Linked DNA regions of Homo sapiens: region 1 is linked to region 2. The links are contacts of gene promoters, found by promoter capture Hi-C in human tissues and cell types (Jung and others, 2019). All regions are on one chromosome and are shown on one strand. The core of a region is centred on a gene start or on the middle of the fragment in contact, and the rest is flanking DNA. Distances in the headings are between cores, read along the strand shown. Region 1 overlaps ARL3 (ARF like GTPase 3). Region 2 holds the start of SH3PXD2A (SH3 and PX domains 2A).

Region 1 (3,375 bases), core at 194-2,693, 1.2 Mb after region 2:
CTAACATAGTACTGAAAAGGAACAAGTTAGAGGACTGACACTACCTGACATCAAGATTCTCTGTAAAGCAAGTAAACAAGACAGCATAGGCCGGGCGCAGTGGCTCACGCCCGCACTCCCAACACTTTGGGAGGCTGAGGCAGGCAGATCACCTGAGGTCAGGAGTTCAAGAGCAGCCTGGCCAATGGGGTGAAACCCCATCTGTATTAAAAATACAAAAATTAGCCGGGTGTAGTGGCAGGCACCTGTAATCCCAGCTGCTCGGGAGGCTAAGACAGGAGAATCGCTTGAACCCAGGAGGCAGAGGTTGCAGTGAGCCGAGATTGCACCATTGCACTCCAGCCTGGGCAACAAGTGTGAAACTCCGTCTCAAAAAAAAAAGAAGACAGCATACATTAGAGAAAGAGTAGACAAATTGATCAACAGAACAGAATAGAGAGCCCCAAAATAGGCTTACATGAATATGGCCCACTCTCTCTGACAAAAGAACATGACAGTTCAAGGGAGGAAGGATAATCTTTTCAGCAAGTGGCGCTGGAATAATGGGACATCGACATGCAAAAAAAAAAGAATCTAGACCCATCCTTACCCCTTAACTTAAAATGTTAAAATAGATTCTTTTTTCCTTCGACCTAGAGCCCTTGACAAAATGGATCTTAAACCTAAATGTAAAACCCAAACACTATAAAACTCCTAGAAGACAACATAGGAGAACATCTAGGTGACCTTGAGTTTGGTGATGAGGTTTTAGATACACAAAAAGCATAATCCATGAAAGAAATAAATTGGACTTAAATGAATTTAAAACTTCTGGAAGCAGCCGGGCGCGGTGGCTCATGCCTGTAATCCCAGCACTTTGGGAGGCCAAGGCGGGAGGATCACGAGGTCAGGAGATCGAGACCATCCTGGCTAACACGGTGAAACCCCATCTCTACAAAAAATACAAAAAAAATTAGCCGGGCGCGGTGGCAGGCGCCTGTAGTCCCAGCTACTCAGGAGGCTGAGGCAGGAGAATGGCGTGAACGTGGGAGGCAGAGCTTGCAGTGAGCCGAGATCACACCACTGCACTCCAGCCTGGGCGACAGAGCAAGAATCCATCTCAAAAAAAATAAATAAAAATAAAACTTCTGGAAGCTGGATTTGGTGGCTCATGTCTGTAATCTCAGCCCTTTGGGAGGCCGAGGTGGGAGGATGCTTCGAGTCCAGAAGTTCAAGACCAGCTTGCACAATATACTGTGACCCTGTCTCTACAAAAAATAAAAAAAAATTAGCCAGTCATGGTGATGTGGACCTGTAGTCCCAGCTACTCGGGAGACTGAGGTGGAAGGATCACTTGAGCCCAGGAGGTTGAGTCTGCAGTGAGCTGTGATCACTACTGCACTCCAGTCTGGGTGACAGAGTGAGACTCTATCTCAAAAAAATAAATAAAATAAAACTTCTGCTCTGCAAAAGAGACTGCTAAGAGAATAAAAATACAAACCACAGACTGGGAGAAAATATTTGCAAAACACATATATGTTAAAGTAGTTATATCTAAAATATACAAATAACTCAAAACTCAAGAATAAGCAAACAACTTGGTTTTACAAATGGGCAAAAGATCTGAACAGACACCTCATCAAAGAAACAGATAAGCATATAAAAAATGTTCAGTATTATATGTCATTATGGATTTACAAATTAAAACAGCAATAATATGGTACTACATATTAATACCTACTAGACTGGCTAAAATAAAAAAAAAACTGACAATACCAAATGCTGATACGGATGTAGAGCAATGGGACTCCTCTTCATTGCTGGTGGAAATACAAAATAGTACACCCACTTTGGAAGACAGTTGGTAGTTTCTTACAAAGCTAAACATAGTCTTAGCATACAGTCCAGCAGTACTCCAAGATATATACCCAGTTAGTTGGAAATTGATATTCCACACAAAATTCTGCATAGGAATGTTTATGGCATCTTTATTCCTAATTGCCAAAACCTGGAAGCATCCAAGATGTCCTTCAATAGGTTAATAGATAAACAAACTGTGGTACACCCGTATAGTAGAATATTGTTCAATGATAAAAATACATGAGCTATCAAGTCATGAAAAGACACAGAGGGGCCGGGTGCGGTGGCTCATGCCTGTAATCCCAGCAGTTTGGGAGGCCAAGGCGGGCAGATCACGAGGTCAGGAGATCGAGACCATCCTGGCTAACACGGTGAAACCCTGTCTCTACTAAAAGCTGGGCGTGCCGGCGGGCGCCTGTAGTCCCAGCCTACTAGGGAGGCTGAGGCAGGAGAATGGCATGAACCCAGAAGATGGAGCTTGCAGTGAGCCAAGATCGCGCCACTGCACTCCAGCCTGGGTGACAGAGCGAGACTCTGTCTCAAAAAAAAGAAAAAAGACACGGAGGGCTCACACCTGTAATCCCAGCACTTTGGGAGGCTGAGGTGGGTGGATCACCTGAGGTCAGGAGTTCGAGGCCAGCCTGGCCAGCATGGCGAAACCCCATCTCTGCTAAAAATATAAAAATTAGCCAGGTGTGGTGGCACATGCCTGTAATCCCAGCTCCTCGAGAAGCTGAGGCAGGAGTATCGCTTGAACCCAGGAGGCAGAGGTTGCAGTGAGCCGAGATCACACTACTGCACTCCAGCCTGGGTGACAGAGCGAGACTCCGTCTCAACAAAAAAACAAAAGTGTATACATGTTTCAAAAGCTATAGACTCCTTTTTCCTCTTTCAATCATGAGTTAGGAAAAAGCAGGTGGCTGAGAGAAATTACATTCCTATCTGTTCATCTGCTGGATTAAGGTATCTTGAAAGAAATACCCAAGGAAGAGAAGTATATAAAGACATTAATGATTGTAAGTCTCCATAAGGAGGTCTCAGAAACTTTCTGGTCTCCAGGTAAGGGTAATTTTAAATCATAAGCTCTAACAGCTTGAGGGCAGACTGCAAGTTGGTTGTAATATAATGTAACCCTGGATTCCACATTCACATGATCTGAGAGTACCTGGGAATTAACGTACAATCCAGCAAAAATCGGTTCACAGCAACACTAGAGAAGCTTCCTCCAGCTGCATCCTTGTACTCGACACTAGTACAAGATAATAGTTTGGATTGAGAGTCAACCTTTCATTATTTTCCAGTGCTGTTTGAGATTAAACAAGTATGAGGGAGGAACTGAGTCCCTGGGATTAGATTCTAAGGCCTTGTGACTCACAGCCCTGTCTGCCAGTTTTGTAGCAGCTTAGAGTGAAGGTGGTGGATGGGTTATATTTGTCTATGTTTAATAGTCTTCCATTGTTGGTTGAAAAAGACTTATTACGCTAGACTCCACACTGCCTAGAAGAGCAGGCTTGAGGCTTGACACAAGAGTTGCCT
Region 2 (3,471 bases), core at 757-3,256:
TCAAGTTGCAGGGAGTCTTTTAGGCAGGAGAAAGGCTACCACTTTGTAGGCCGCTAGGAAGTGGGGAAGAACTGGGCCCTCTCTCCTACAAATTTATTGTGCTTGGTGTGTTCATTGTGGATCTGGGTCCGAAAGAAGGGTAATAAGGAAACCACTAGTGCTGTTTTAGATGAGCTGACTGCTTTGATTCACAAGGGGACCCAAATCAAACTAAACCCCCTCCTCTTCTTCCCCCCACAACAGCTAAACACCAGCTCCCCTCGCTGGTGGCTTCTCAGGTTTTATTAGCACTTCCAGAAGACTTTGCCATCCACAGAAGACGAGTTATCCGAGAGCCATGATGAATCTCTTCCTCACAAACTCACAGGCTGTCTTGATCCATCATCAGAGAGGACCTGGAGCTGGCCAGCACCCTCCCAAGTTCGGGAGCTCAATATGGAGGGCCCGTTCCAGGTCTACCTCTCATCCCTTCAGGGAATAATCCTTGCTCATGGAGGTAGTGCCCTGTCCTCCCATTTTCCCATCAGCTGAGCAACATTACCAGGTGCACCTTCCCCCAGGACTCCTGCTCCAACATTCACAAAGGTTTTCTGTCATCTTCTCTGACCAAGAAGCTCTGGCCTGGTGCCAAGATCTCTCACAGTCTGAGCCCCCTAGGCCCATCCATCTTTTTTTTTCTTTGTCCCGTGCCATCGTTTGGTGTCCTAGCGCCCTTCCCCAGGAAGGTTGGAGGAATAGTGGGTTACTCTGTATGGAGCAAATATGTGAATAAATAAAGCCTTAGATCTGTGCCTGGGTTCTGACAGTCTAGAGAACGCGCAGAAGAAAGTATTAATGCAATTAGGTCACAAAATTATTTGTCCTCTTTTCAGATGTTTCACATTGGTCCACAGTCACAAAGCTTTATTGTGATTGTGTAACAACTGGAGTAGTTGTGAAAACACTACCCTTTAAATGTTTGAAAGCAGAATGGGAAAAAAATGTTGAACTAGAAGGGGGGAAGCTACATTGAATTAAGTAGTAACTGTGCTCCAAGTCCAGGGACCACGGACAAGTGGCTTGGAAAGTGGGTTTTCCAGACTAGAGGGAGGGGTGAGAATGCCAGAGCCTGGGGCTCACGGTGAGCTGGCCTCCAACCGGGTGGGTTTTCCCACCATTGTATGCTCCTTTCCCTGTCGCCAGCTTGGGGAGGGTCCCCAGGGGAGCCCTGGGCTTAAGGCAGTGGTGTTATGCAGAGTCTGTAACGTTGTCATTGGTAAATGATGCACAGGGTAGTTACACAAGCCCAGATCGATGGACGACTCAGGCAACGAATCGATCACTTTTCCGGGGAGAATTCACCCTTTATGACCTGCAGAGGGTCAGGTGGTTCGTCCAAAGAGGCTCTGGCTTGAAGGATTTAAAGCTGGCCTTTTCCCCATTCCCATCTCCTCCTCGGGGGCCTGGGCAGTAACAGCCGGGTAATAAACTACTTCTCATTAAAGAGATCTGGGGGTGGAAGTTGTAGGGGGACATAAAAGTGGGGACAAAAAGGCACAAATCCGCTCCGAGGCGGAAAGCCAGGATGGGGGCGCGCGGGGCTCACTTTCCCCGCTCCCTCTCCCCCCGAAGCCACCCTGAGTTTTTGTGCCTAGCGAACTAGCCCGGTGCTGCGCCAGGCCGCTGGCTGCGCGCTGGGCTCGGGTGGGGGCTCGTCGGCCCGCCCCTGCCACTGGGGCCGGGCTGCAGCCCCCTCCCCGTCGCCCCGAGCCCCTCCCCCGGCCCGGAGCCCCTCCCCGCGCGCTTCCCCTCTCTCCCCTCCCTCCCTTCCCTTCCCTGCCTGCCAGGCCCTGCCTCCGCCTCCTGCGCCCACAGCCTCCGCCAGCGCCGATCCCCCCGGAGCCCGAGCCGGAGAGCGGCGAAGGGGAGCCGCCGGCCCCTCCCCAGGACGCTGACAGCAGGCTCCGGGGCCCCCGCCCCGTCCCCTCGCCGACGGGACACACCCCCGCCCCTCCTCTGCTCCGCCAGTTCCCGCCGGACCCACCGGGCGGCGGAGAGAGCGAGCGGGCGAGCGCAGCGCGGCGGCCGCGCGGGAGTGAAGGGGCGCGCGGCAGGCCGGCGGGGAGTCCCCCGGGGCGCACGGAGCCCGCGCGCCCTCCGGGACCCTCCCCCGTCCCTGGGCCGGACCTGTGGGCGCCGGGAGTCCGGGCAGCGTTCGGCGCGCCGGGCCGGGGTGGCGGGCGGCCCCGGGACCCCGGCAGCTGGAGAAGGAGCCGGAGCCCGGCCGGGATGAGAAGGTGACGCCGCCGGGGGCGCCACTCGCTTTGTGGGGGAAGATGCTCGCCTACTGCGTGCAGGATGCCACCGTGGTGGACGTGGAGAAGCGGAGGAACCCCTCCAAGCACTACGTGAGTACAGCCCCCGCCGACCCTGCTGGGGGTGGCCCGAGGTCCCGGGAGGGCCCCGGATGGCCCCTTGCCCCTCCCAGCTGTGAGGTCGCGAAGCTAAGCGCCCACTGGGCAGCCAGCAGCCGTGGAGTTTCTTCGCAGGGCTGTGATCTCCAGGGAAGCCTCTTCTGTCCTTCCTCCTTCGCACCCCCGCCCCCCCGGTTTCTTTTTTTGGCATTGGAATTGGCAAGTGGCTGCCCTTGTCTGTTACAACGGTGAAGTCATCTGTCCGCCTTTGATGGATGGTGGGGGGAGCTTTCGTCAACCCCTCACAGAGCAGCCCCGTCGGGAAAGCGCATCTCCTCGGCCCTCCCCAGGGGCCCTGGGCGCTCACGCTCACACAGCCCGAGATGCTTTCAGAGCTCGCCCTGGAGAAGGAAGCCTCGCGCCCTGCCTCCCACGCCAGCTCTGTCTCTGCCTTCCTAGGCCTGGGGCTGGGGGCAGAAGGAAGCCGCCGCCCCCTTGCCCAACCTCCACCCTCCGCGCTAAGCTTTGATTTCCCTCATAAAGCCATTGTGTCCGTCGGTGTGAGGAGAATTGTGGCTTTTCCTTTTATCCCTCCTCTGGACGTGACCCTTAACCGGGTTCATTTCCTCTTAAGTGATGCTCCATCTCCAGACACGAGGAGGCGAATGTTTGCTGTGGTCTCCGAGGAACCGCCCCTCCCCCTTCCTCCCCCAAACTTTAATGAGAAGGGGTTAAGGTTGACTGGGGCAGCTCCAGAGCCTATGTGACAGTTCCCCTTTCATCTCAGCCGGTCCTGTCTTCCCATCCCTCACACCTTAGGAAGTAAACACGGTGTCCTTGACCCCTCTGAGCGTCTGTGCTCCTGTACTTGAGATAGAAGAGACCCAAGCACAGAGGACTGCATGTTATTTGCAAATTGGGTATTTAGAGGAGCAGTTCCAGTGCTCAAAGCATTAATCTTAACAGTTAAAACAGGCGCTGGTTGCTGCCCTGGATTGTACATTGATCTCTGAAGTGCCTTTTCTTCCACTGTTGCAAAGGGACTGGGGTTTGTGGCAATGTCAGCCTCGGGCTACTC

The links. Contacts are between HindIII fragments. The study calls those that stand out against the background at their distance.
Region 1: a fragment that was not itself captured here is called in contact with the fragment with the promoter of SH3PXD2A in region 2 in 1 of the 25 tissues and cell types used here (hippocampus).

Annotation. Positions count from the first base shown.
Region 1 is chr10:102,691,732-102,695,106 of GRCh38, reverse strand. All of the region lies in intron 3 of ARL3 (ARF like GTPase 3), which reads left to right. Among named protein-coding and RNA genes, the nearest start is that of ARL3, 21 kb to the left of the region's middle. The HindIII fragment of the contact is 6,261 bases long and covers 1-3,375 here.
Region 2 is chr10:103,854,111-103,857,581 of GRCh38, reverse strand. SH3PXD2A (SH3 and PX domains 2A) reads left to right here and starts at 2,006. Exons shown (of 15, transcript NM_001394015.1): 1 at 2,006-2,387. The coding sequence starts at 2,316. The HindIII fragment of the contact is 10,601 bases long and covers 1-3,471 here.